Linked DNA regions of Homo sapiens: regions 1, 2 and 4 are each linked to region 3. The links are contacts of gene promoters, found by promoter capture Hi-C in human tissues and cell types (Jung and others, 2019). All regions are on one chromosome and are shown on one strand. The core of a region is centred on a gene start or on the middle of the fragment in contact, and the rest is flanking DNA. Distances in the headings are between cores, read along the strand shown. Region 1 has its middle 68 kb from the start of SNHG14. Region 2 overlaps PWRN1 (Prader-Willi region non-protein coding RNA 1). Region 3 holds the start of NPAP1 (nuclear pore associated protein 1). Region 4 has its middle 41 kb from the start of SNHG14.

Evidence for each region. Contacts are between HindIII fragments. The study calls those that stand out against the background at their distance.
Region 1: a fragment that was not itself captured here is called in contact with the fragment with the promoter of NPAP1 in region 3 in 2 of the 25 tissues and cell types used here (aorta and spleen).
Region 2: a contact is called between a fragment that was not itself captured here and the fragment with the promoter of NPAP1 in region 3, in 4 of the 25 tissues and cell types used here (dorsolateral prefrontal cortex, heart left ventricle, heart right ventricle and 1 more).
Region 4: a contact is called between a fragment that was not itself captured here and the fragment with the promoter of NPAP1 in region 3, in 4 of the 25 tissues and cell types used here (dorsolateral prefrontal cortex, liver, mesenchymal stem cells and 1 more).

Annotation. Positions count from the first base shown.
Region 1 is chr15:24,754,410-24,757,525 of GRCh38, reverse strand. No RefSeq gene overlaps it. Among named protein-coding and RNA genes, the nearest start is that of SNHG14, 68 kb to the left of the region's middle. The HindIII fragment of the contact is 8,191 bases long and covers 1-3,116 here.
Region 2 is chr15:24,564,001-24,566,916 of GRCh38, reverse strand. PWRN1 (Prader-Willi region non-protein coding RNA 1) reads right to left here. Exons shown (of 9, transcript NR_026646.1): 2 at 117-261. Among named protein-coding and RNA genes, the nearest start is that of PWRN1, 7.3 kb to the right of the region's middle. The HindIII fragment of the contact is 3,541 bases long and covers 1-2,916 here.
Region 3 is chr15:24,674,212-24,677,355 of GRCh38, reverse strand. It overlaps NPAP1 (nuclear pore associated protein 1), which reads right to left and starts at 1,581. Exons shown (of 1, transcript NM_018958.3): 1 at 1-1,581. The coding sequence starts at 1,488. The HindIII fragment of the contact is 8,790 bases long and covers 1-3,144 here.
Region 4 is chr15:24,780,846-24,783,997 of GRCh38, reverse strand. No RefSeq gene overlaps it. Among named protein-coding and RNA genes, the nearest start is that of SNHG14, 41 kb to the left of the region's middle. The HindIII fragment of the contact is 6,461 bases long and covers 1-3,152 here.

The DNA of each region.
Region 1 (3,116 bases), core at 370-2,869, 80 kb before region 3:
CTCACTCCATTGCCCAGGCTGGAGTGCAGTGTTGCAATCTTGGCTCACTGCTACCTCTGCCTCCTGGGTTCAAGCAATTCTCCTGCCTCAGCCTCCCAACTGGCTGGGACTAAAAGTGTACACCACCATGCCCGGTTAATTTTTGTATTTTTAGTAAACATGGGGTTTCATCATGTTGGCCAAGCTGCTCTTGAACTCCTGACCTCAAATGATCCACCTGCCTCAGTCTCCCAAAGTGCTGGGATAATAGGCATGAGCCATCGTGCCTGGCATGGACACTGAATTTTCTTATCCATAGATCGTATCTGCACCTGGAAAATGATGGAAGGGACAAAAACCATGTTTACAAAGTCTACAGAAGCAGAGAGTAATGTCCTAGGCCTTCACCTTCACTCACCACTCACTAATTTACCCAGAGCAACTTCCAGTCCTGCAAGCTCCGTTTATGGTAAGTGCCCTATACAGGTGTGCCATTTTTTATGTCTAATACTGTATTCTTACCTTTTCCATGTTTAGATATGTTTACAGGCACACATATTTGCCATTGTGTTACAATTGGCTAGAATATTCAGTACAGTAACACACTGCAAAGGTTTGTAGCCTAGAAGCAATAGGCATACAGCCTAGGTGTATAGGAGGATATACCAGCTAGGTCTGTGTAAGTGCACTCTATGATGTTCACAATGTAAGCAAAAAATAAAATTCTAAGAGTGCCCAGTCATCTGGATGGACTTTCCCCTCAGCCAGAGCTCTTTTAAAATTTAACCTGAAAGACTGGTTCAGGCCCTAACAGGAAGTGGGGGTTGGTCATGCCTCAGTATACCTCTCCAGCATTAATATTAATACCAACTTTAAGTCTGAGTAGAAACATTTTAAAACCTAGGCAGGTGCAGTGGCTCATGCCTGTAATCCCAGCAATTTGGGAGGCCCAGACGGGCAGATCACCTGAGGTCAGGAGTTCAAGACCAGCCTGGCCTACAGGGCAAAACCCTGTCTCTACTAAAAATACAAAAATTAGGCACCCTGGCGCATCCCGTAATCTCAGCTACTCGAGAGGCTGAGGCAGAAGAATTGCTTGAACCCTGGAGGTGGAGGTTGCAGTGACCCAAGATCGCACTACTGCATCCCAGCCTGGGCGATAGAGTGAGACTCTGTCTCTAAAACAAAAATAAACACAAAAACCTATTCTCTCTGAAGCCTGCTACCTGGAGGCTTCATCTGCATGATAAAACTTTGGTCTCCACAACCTTTTATCTTAACTGAGACATTCCTTTCTTTGATTCCAGGTCTTTAGACCAACTCAACCAATTGTCAATCAGAAAATGTTTAAGTTTACCTTCACCCCCCACCCCTCTTAGAATACCTGCCTTTCTGGACCAAACCAATATATTTCTTATATGTATTTGCTATCTCATGCCTCCCTAAAATGTATAAAACCAAGCTGCACCCTAACCACCTTGGGTGCGTGTTCTCAGGACCTCCTGAAGATTGTGTCCCGGGCCATATTTGGCCCAGAATAAATCTCTTCAAATATTTTACAGAGTTTGACTCTTTTCATTGACAATAAAATGACCAACTCGACAAATGACACATTTCTTAGAACACATCCCCGTTCTAATGCTTGACTGTAGTTAATTGACAGAGATATCCTTTCTTATAGTTCCATGTGAAATATTTGATTCATTGACACACAGTGGCTGACTTCCATGGAGACTCCTACTGATACTGTGTATAGGTCAATTATGATCTTCCCTTTAGTGTTACAAACGGAGTTTAATTATCGATTTTTCTCTGTGAGTTTCACACACATTTTTCCTTTGTATTGCGAGCTAGAAGCAAACAGCTGGGAATGCAGTAATCATTGTGTAATTGTGGAAGGTATGAATCAAAACGCTGTGGAAAAACAAATATGGTTTGGACATGCCTCAACAAATGTAAAAAACTGGACAGCTTATATGGAACAATGGAAATTATACGGAACAATAAAAATTATATGGACCAATGGTTTGCAAGACACTGTACATCAATCAAGGACGGACAGTAATCCCTGAAAGACTTAAAACAATTATAGGAGCCCTAAGATTGTGTCAAGTTACAGCTTTAAGTTTCCTTCTGTAGTGTGGCAAGGACTTTTGAGACTTTTTGTGTCGAGAAGATGAAACTGAGGGTCTTAAGAAGAGTTTTGCTCAGTGTCATCAAGCCATTATCCAAGCCCAGTGTTAAGAGTGGAAGAGAGGAATCATGCCAGCACCTATGCAGAGAGGGTTGGCTTGTGCTACCATTTTCTATATTGACATGGGTCACAGAACTATGGGAGCAGTCCAGGAGAAAAGGCAAAGCCACTCGAAGAAGTCATTTTAATGAACTTAGCCTTCAACGCTTTCATCTTATTCCTAACTGTAAAAAGACAGGCTTTTACATGACACAGCCCATGTTGCAGCATTAGCCCACGATGAGAGGCGACTCGTTAGAGATGAAAGAACTGCTTATGAGTAGGATGAACCACCACACCTAAACCAAACCTGCATTTTCTACAATGTGTTGTTATGTGTGACTGATATACTGATTACATTTTGATGCTCTGTGACTTGGGATGTTTCACTTAAGATTTTTCAACTTTATGATAGTGGGAAACTGACATGAATTCAGCAGAAAGTGTACTTCAAGGACCCATGAAACCATTGTGTTTTTCACCTTCAGTACAGTAGTCAATAAATTGCATAAGCTATTCCACATTTTATTATAAAATAGGCTTTGTGTTAGATAACTTTGCCCAACTGGCTGCTACACAAGCAATGAAATCTTCAGTCTAGTGATCTAAAAAATATTTTTGGCAGGATTTCCAAAACATTTATGAGCTGTGAGAATCCAAGTTTCCAAGAGCATTGATACTTTATGGATATTTTTATTCCAAATGATAGATGGATATTTGTTTGCCAGGTGATGCTGTGGTCAGGGGCTGTGGTCTTCTATACTCTATACAGAGAATTTCAAGGGCAGATCTTCTTAAAAACAAAACAAAACAAGACAGTTCCCCTGGTCTCCATCATCTTCGTTATTTTATTGTATTGTGATTTGATACCACTAATCTTAATTTTCCTAAATATTGAGAGCCA
Region 2 (2,916 bases), core at 3-2,502, 110 kb after region 3:
ACCGCGCCCGGCCTGAGATTATCAATTTAAATGAGGCTCTCCTTCCTATGGGGTGAATTGTAAGCTCAGAGGGGTAAGAAGGTTTATTGAATTATAAATGTCCCAAATAATAGCACCTGAATTACTGCTACGATCTTCTCGGAAGTAAGAAATATGGTCAAGGGCAGCTGTATCTCTTACTCCACATCTCCTGGATGCAGGAATTTATTTTCTCACTGGAGCTATGAAGCTGGTACGGAGAATGTAGCCCATGATCACGGTCTGAAAAAGCAAAAAGAGTCCTAACTTCGTGGATGTCCTTGGGAGTGTAGCACACAGTCCCATGGCTTAGTAAGCTTTGTGGACATTGTTCCTGGAACAACCCTGGTGCTCTCCCGTAAAGTGGTGTGGCCTGTGAACGGGGAGCTATGTGGGTGATGAGGGGACAGTCCTCCCTGCTGTGGGGATCTTTGTTTAACCAGTACAGATGCAAAGTCAGCACTCAGCCCGTGTCCATCTCTTAGATCACTACATGGTGGGCTGGGCTATGTTGTACTGTGCTCTTCTTCCCTTTTTTCTATTAGGCTATTTCCACCTCTGCACAACACACTCTGTATCACTAACATGCCTCACTTTCATATGCCTGGTGTCTAAAGGTTCATTTCAGGTCTCTGTAAGCAGGAATTAGCCTACAACCCCATGATTAGAAGCTTTTATTTTCATACCTAGTGAACCTTCTACACTATGATATTGTCTATGCTGCAGCTTTTGGGCCTCTCACTGGACAAAAGAAATCCATGATGTTATAGCATCAGGGGACTGTGTGATGCCATGAATTCATGATGAAGTCTGCATAATAAAGAGAACTTAATTATCATAGGGTATTCTCAAAGGCTTTAAAAAACTTTGAAACTTGAACAAAAGAATCTCTGAACTAAGAAAACACTCCTAATGTAGAAATATTATTTATGTTCCCCATCACTGGTGTTTCTCAATCTTGTCTGGAAGTCATGTCTTCCAAAATGTCTCTAGTGAGATCCCACAAAGACACTACCACAAAGTGTCTGAAAATAGGGCCTTCTAACACATGTGGGGCAGGCACCTTTCTTTGAAAAAGTGGTTACTGATGTATGAACTGGTGACTGGGTAATGGAGCATATGATGGGAAAGAAGAAAATGGATGAGAGTCCCTGGAGCTTGATGAGGCGCCTGAAGCCTGAAGCAGGTGCCCTGTGTAGGAATGGGGATAATAAGGCAAGTACTTTGCCTTTCACTCCCTGCATCTCCACTCATCCTCTGATCCAAGGTTTCTTGTTGTTTATGTCCATCTGTGTTGGTATTTTTTTTTGTTCCTAAATAATACATTTTAAGAACATTTTTATTTGAAAATAATTTTAGTTTTACAGAAACTTGCAAAGATAATACAGTTTTACATAATCTACAGCTTCCTGAAATGTTAACAACTTATGTAACCAGAATGTATTTATGAAAACTCAGAAATTGACAGTGGTACAAAACTATTAACTGAAATACAGACTTTCTTAATATTTTGCCAGGTTTTCCACTGATGTCATTTTCTGTTCTAGAATTTAATTACATTTACTGTCAGGCATATTACCTATAGGTCGCTGTATAACATATAACCGAACAGCTTAGATGTTCAAACCCACACATAAATATTATTTAACATTTTCTCTGGGTCAGATGTCCCAGGCTGAGGTTTCAAGTGAAGCCTCCCCTGGGGAAGGATCCCTTTCCCAGCTCATGTTAGTGTTGGTAGGATTCAATTTTTTTCTAGGTTGTGATGACTTCACTGGTGAATTATTCTAACCCCTTTGAGAATTAATAACAATCCCTTATTAACTAATCTTTCAAGAAAAATTATAAAAACAGAGGAGTAGAGAACACTTCCCAATACGCCGCACGAAGCCCGTTTTCCCTGATAGCACAACTGGACAAAGAGATTTCAAGAAAGGAAAATTACAGACAAATACGCCCCATGAAACAGAGGCAAAAATTCTGAAGGAAATACTATCAAAATAAACCTGTAGCCTAATAAAAATATACATTATGAGCAAAGTCATTTGTCCCTGAAATATGTTTTCTTAAACATAAAAAAACTATTAGTGTAATACACTATATTAATAGAATGAAGGACAAAAGCTTCATAATTATCTCTAAAGATACAGAATAAGCAGTTGAAAAATCCAAAACACATTCAAGATAACAAGGCTGAGCAAATTAGGCATGGAAGGAAATTTTCTTAAGTGATAAAGGGCATCTATGAAAAACTCACACAACAACACAACATATGATGAATGTTTCAGTAATTTCTTCAAAAAATTAGCAACAGGACAAGGATGTATGCTCTTGCTACTTTTATTCAGTATTGTACTGGAACATGCAGCCAGGGTAATTAGGCAAGAAACATAAATATAAGACTTCTAGAATGAAAAGGATGAAGTTAAGCTATCTCTATTCATGAATGACATAATCCTGTGTATAGAACATCTTAAGGAATAGTGCCACAATAAATATACGTGTGCATGTGTCTTTATAGCAGCATGATTTATAATCCTTTGGGTATATACCCAGTAATGGGATGGCTGGGTCAAATGGTATTTCTAGTTCTAGATCCTTGAGGAATCACCACACCGACTTCCATAATGGTTGAACTAGTTTACAGTCCCACCAACAGTGTAAAAGTGCTCCCATTTCTCCACATCCTCTTCAGCACCTGTTGTTTCCTGATTTTTTAAAGATCGCCATTCTAACTGGTGTGAGATGGTATCTCATTGTGGTTTTGATTTGCATTTCTCTGATGGCCAGTGATGATGAGCATTTTTTCTTGTGTTTTTTGGCTGCATAAATGTCTTCTTTGGAGAAGTGTCTGTTCACATCCTTCACCCACTTTTTGATGGGGTTGTTTGTTTTTTT
Region 3 (3,144 bases), core at 332-2,831:
GTCAGAAGTGAGAGGCGCTGCTCCTACGACTGAATTATAAGAGCCTCCTTTCTCATTAGACTGATCACCCAAAATGGGAACAAGGTCAGCAGGAAGAGCCAGAGGAGAGTTAGGGATTGTGAATGCTATTTTCTCATCCATTTTTGGTGTGGTGGAAAGTGGAGGGATAGGCAGGATGAGGGGTCCAGTAGCCAGGTCAGCCAAGTCAGGGATGGGCAAAGGAGCTGAGACCTGGGAAGTGTAAGTGGTCAGGGGCAGGGAGTCTGTGGTCTGCACAGGTTGGGAGAAAGAAGGGGCAGGCTGGGTGATGCTGCTGTTTGTCATGGTCTCTGTTTTATCCTCCAAGATTCTGCTATTCCTTTTATACTCAGGGCTCTTCTCCAAGGTGTGTAGGTCTCCCTCAACAGACAGGCAGGGGAGCTTAGCAGGTGGGGGAAGCTCACCTCGATCCCACAGCAATGGCAGTGAAGGGGGCAGCGGCAGCAGCAATGGAATCGACATTTTCCTTTTGCAGGGCCTGTTGCGGGCAGCTCTGGGAGGAGCAGCGCTCCTTGGAGGAATACAGAAAGGCTTCTCATCAGGCATCCTCTTTCCGGACATCAGCGGAATCGGCAAGCCTAGGGAGCTGGGCGGTGGCTCTTCATTCAGCACTTCCGCAGCCAACTTCTGCTGCAGCAGGGAGCAGCCAACGGCTGGCTCAGGGGGCGCTGTTGCATCCGGATCAGGCTTTCCAAGATGCCGGGCACATCCGGCCTGGCTGTGTGTGCTGGGCATGGCAGGGCCTTCCAAGCAGGAGCTCGCTGGAGACGCCTGGGCCTTCTCACTCATGCTGTTTTCTGAGAACTTGTGGTAGACATTTCCCTCCAGAGGCCCAGGGCTGCATCTGAAGGAGGCCACGTCTCCCTGGGTGCCCTGGGACCTGGATGTGGACGATGCTTCTCCGCTGCTAAGGGGGGTCCTTTTCTCGTCATCCTCCCCTTCGATCTGCACCGGATCCTCATCCTTCTTCACTCTTCTGGGCCCTTCTTGGGCCCACACCTCGGTCTCCTCCAGGAGAGTGGCTGGGATGGGCTTCCTGGCCTTGACCGCCGGCTCACGTGGTGAAGGCAGCAGGAGAGTGAACATGCGGCTGGGAGGAGGGATCCTTACGGAACTGGGGTGTCCAAACCTCGGGGGGTTCCGAGCAGGCAGCATGGGTGTCTTCCTGATGGCCAGCCCCCAACCCACAGCCGGCAGGACCCCCAGAGGGGCGGCCGCAGCCCGAGGGAGAGGACACGGCCTCTTAGGGGCGACGAAGATGCTGGCTGCTGAAGGCCTGCGACGGGCGTTCCGGCGGAACAGGCCGCGGAAAGGGCGCGGGGTGGGTACAGAGTGAGCCCGACCGGGCGGGGAGGCGTCCCGGGACAGGGGAGCGGGGGCGCCACGCCCTGGCCCTGGCAGGGGCCGGCGGCGGCACCCGGGTCTAAATTTACTAAGTAAATTGCCCATTTAGAGCTAGCCGTGCCTCCTACCGTAAAACAGGGTCAGCAGTGGACTCAACTCTCCTCAGCCACCGCCTCCTCTGGCGACCAAGCACAAACTGACTGGCTCTACGCCTGCGACGCCGCCGCGAGGTTCCTCACAGAACCAGGGAGCGCCAGCGGGGGCGCAAAAGGCAGGGGTCAGAGGGCAAAGGGCGACGCCCCGTCGGCCCCAGCTGCCCCAGGACCCCCGGAAGCCCCGCTGCCGGTGGCAGGTGTTGCACCGCGTGGCCTCTATGAGGGAACTGCTGGGGCCTGCGGGCCCATCGCCAGAGCTCTTGTCACCTGGGCGCCGGCTCTGCCTGTTCCTTAGCCCTGGCCCGGCGCTGTTGCACGCAGTGGCCCTGTGTCGGCCGTCCCCATTCCCCGGTTCACAGAGGGCACATCTGCTTCAAGTTAAGCACAGGACAACCTATATCCTGCCAGCCTCCTCTAGGACCTTGGCAGTGCTCTGTGCTGCCTGGAGCCAGGTGTGCCGTCTCTGTGGCGCCAGGGTCACCAGCCAGGCCGTGAGGGTTTCCGAGGAGGGGACGTGGTGCCTTGTCCTGACTAGATGCTACGCCCTACCACATCTCTTCCTGGCAGGCAGGGCCTCTTCACTTCTTTTCACAAATTTGTTTTAAACAACATTTAAGGCTGGGCGCGGTGGCTCACGCCTTTAATCCCAGCACTTTGGGAGGCCAAGGCGGGTGGATCACCTGAGGTCAGGAGTTCGAGACCAGCCTGACCACCATGGTGAAACCCCATCTCTACTAAAAATACAAAAATTAACTGAGCGTGGTGGCACGCACTTGTAATCCCAGCTACTAGGGAGGCTGAGGCAGGAGAATCGCTTGAAAGCGGGAGGTGGAGGTTGCAGTGAGCTGAGATCACCTCACTGCACTCCAGCCTGGGGGAACAGAGCAAAACTCTTGTCTCAAACAAAAACAAAAACAAAAAACCACAACAAACAACAGCAACAACATTTAAGCCTTAGGCTGCTTGCTCCTTGGGTCATTGATATGACAGTGGCCTAGCCAGGCTTCGAACCTGGGCTGTGTGATTCCAGAGCTGGTGCCGTGGCCTGTGTGCCTCCTTGTTATGGACACATCATGTATTCTCATTATTTCCTGTAGTCCTTAGGGTACCTAGCACACAGCACATCTGTATTAAGCACATGCGTTCCTAGGGGGAAGCCCTTACTTCACCTCATAAGTTGGTCATGGCAGGCACTGGGCTCCAGTCTCCTCTGAAGACATGGGGCAGCGACCCCCAATAGTCAGCAAAGCAGCATCCCACACTGTTCTTCTAATTGAGCCTTGCAGCCCAGATTTCCTTTTTGGTCTAGTTTGAAGGATCTAAATATGTAAAGATTATAGTCCAGATCCATTTTGGCCTATCCCGAAAGAAATTCACCAGTGGATTAATCCAAATGGATAAGCCAGTTCTCTGGCCTTCTTGGAATATGTTAGAAAGCAAATTCATCATGTATTTGCAAGTCAGTAGTGGAGCAATGTATTCGATTAAAATATGATCAATACAATTTGGTCATTGTCCGCATGCCAGCAAGGCCCACTCTTTACCACACATTACTGTCACCTAAGTATAACTATCCATATTCTTATGCCCAAGGAAGGAGACTTAA
Region 4 (3,152 bases), core at 490-2,989, 110 kb before region 3:
AACTATCTGACAACTTCTTAAAATGGGGTTTTCTGTGATATGTGAGACACAGGAAGCTTTCTTTGAAGAAGTGATTACTGACACTCAGGAAAGTGGTGACTATGTAATGGGAAGCCAGTGGGAAAAAAGAAAGAGGAGAAAAGTTCCTGGAGCTTGATGGTGTCTTTCTGAAGCAGATGCACCTGAATTTAGAATTGTGAATAGATAAGGAAGATGCTTTCCTATTCTCTCCCTATGTATATGACCATCATCCAATGAATCATCATTACCTGATGGAGGTTATTTGTTTATGTCTGTGTAGTTTTTTTTTGGTACCAAAACAACACTTTTAAAATAAGATTTTAATTGTGAAATGCTTAAAAAATATACAAGACTCAAACTACTTTGTTGGGAACAGACCCCCAAATCTGGCCATAAACTGGCCCCAAAACTGGCCATAAACAAAATCTCTGCAGCACTGTGACATGTTTGTGATGGCCATGATGCCCACGCTGAAGGTTGTGGGTTTACCGGGATGAGGGCAAGGAACACCTGGTCCACCCAGGGCGGAAAACCGCTTAAAGGCATTCCTAAATCACAAACAATGGCATGAGTGATCTGTGCCTTAAGGACATGTTCCTGCTGCAGATAACTAGCCAGACCCATCCCTTCCTTTTGGCCCATCCCTTTGTTTCCCATGGGGGAATACTTTTAGTAAATCTATAATCTATAGAAACAATGCTTATCACTGGCTTGCTGTCAATAAATATGTGGGTAAGTCTCTGTTCGGGGCTCTCAGCTCTGAAGGCTGTGAGACCCCTGATTTCCCACTCCACACCCTACATTTCTGTGTGTGTGTCTTTAATTCCTCTAGTGCCACAGGATTATGGTCTCCACGACCGAGCTGGTCTCAGCACTACTTAATTACAAGAGTATAAGTAACAACATAAAAAATGGGCAAAGGACTTCAAAATAAGACATACAACTGTCCAACAGACATATGAAAAAATTCTTCAACATTTGTAATCATCAGAGAAGTGTAAATTAAAATCATAATGAGATATTGGCTCACACCTGCTACTTTGGCTATTGTCAGGATGATGAAATATAACAAATGTTGGTGAGGAAATGAAAAAAGACAAACTTTGTACATTGTAGGTGGGAATGTCAATTAGTACAGATATTTTAGAAAATACTATGGAAGTGTCACAAGAAATTAAAAATAGAATTACTATATGATATAGCAATCTCTCTCCAGGGTATATGCCAAAAAAATTGGAATCACTATGTTGAAGAGATGTCTTTACTCTCATGTTCATTTCAGCATTATTTACATTAGCCAAGATTTGGAAACAATTTAAGAGCTCATTAATGGATAAATGGATTAACAAAAATGTGGTACATATACACAATGTGATACCATTCAGCCTTAAAAATATAGGAAATTCTGTCATTTGCAACAACTTGGATGAACCTACAGTACATTATGCTAGGTAAAATAGGCTAGACACAGAGGGACGATTACCATATGATCTCAATTATATGTGGAATCTTAGAAGTCAAACTCATAGAAGTGGAGAATCATATGGTGGTTACCACAGGTTGTTATGAAGGGGTGGTTGGGGAAGGAGAGACATTGGTCAAAGGGTTTGAAGTTTCTATTAGACAGGAGGAATAATGTCTGGTGATTTATTTCACAGCATGGTGAATATAGATAATAAGAATGTGTTGTATATTTCCCAAAACAGCTAAAAGAGATGATTTTAAATGTTCTCACCACAAAGAAATAATAAATATTTGAGGTAATGGATATGATGATTAGCCTAATTTGACCATTCCACAATGTATACATATAACAAAACACCACAATTAACCCCATGAGTAAGAGTACATACACTTATTATCTGACAATTAAAAATAACAATTAATTTTAGATTACTGAAAGGTATAAGGAGAATATAAAGAGTTTTGTATACCATTCAGCTTCTTGCAATCTTAACATCTTAAATAGCCATAACATATTTGTGAAAACAAATAAAATTGAATGTGGTAAAAACCATTAACTGAAATACAGACTGTCTTTATACTTTACCCGATTTTACATTAATGTCACTTTTTCTGTCAATGATTCATTCCAGATGCCACAGTACATTAACTGTCAGGTTTATTACTTATTTATTGCTGTATAACTCATTTATACAGCAAAGTGCCTCAAAACCACACACACACATATTACTCACTGTTTCTTTAGGGCATGAATCCTGGTGTAGATGATGTCTAGGCTGAAGTCTCAGCTGAAGGTTCAGCTGGGGAGGAATCATCTTCCAAGCTCACAGATTGTTGTTAGGATTCAATTACATGCCCAGGGTGAGATTACTTCACTAGTAAATTATACCAAAACTTTAAAGAATTTATAACAATCCTTCACTAACTCCTCTCCCAAGAGAAGAAGAAAACAAACAAAGGAACGAAAACCAAAAAGGAAAAAGAGAGCACTTCCCAATGCATTTTATGAAGTCAGTTAACCTGATACTACAACTGGAAAAAGACATTGTAAGAAAGGAAAATTAGAGACCAACATGCCTTATAAATACGAGAATCCTCAAGGAAAAACTATCAAAACACAAAAGCACCGTAGACAAAGGATATACACTATGACCAAGGGTATTTATTCCAGCATTGCAAGTTTGGATAAACATACAAAAACAATTAGTAAAATATACTATCTAAATAGTATAAAGAGTAAAAACACATGATCACTTAAGATGAAGAATAAGCATTTGACTAATTAAAACCCCATTTATGATTGGAGCATTTATGAAAACATTGAGCAAATGAAGCATAGAAGGGAACTTTGCCTATAAAGAGCATCAATTAAAAATTCACATAGAAACATACAATGTCATGGAAGCCTCAGTAATTTCTCCAGGATTAGAAATAAGACACTGAGGTCCACTCTTGCCACTTCTATTCAACAGAGTATTGGAGGATGTAGCCAGGACAATTAGGCTACAAAAAATGTAAGACATTCACAATAGAAAGGAAGAAGTTAAACCATCTTTGTTTGCAAATGACATAATCCTGTGTATAGAAAATCCTAAGGAATTCAGTAAAGTAAGATTAGAATCTAAAAACAAGTTCAGTAACTTTGCAGTATACAAAGGTGGTTCAGG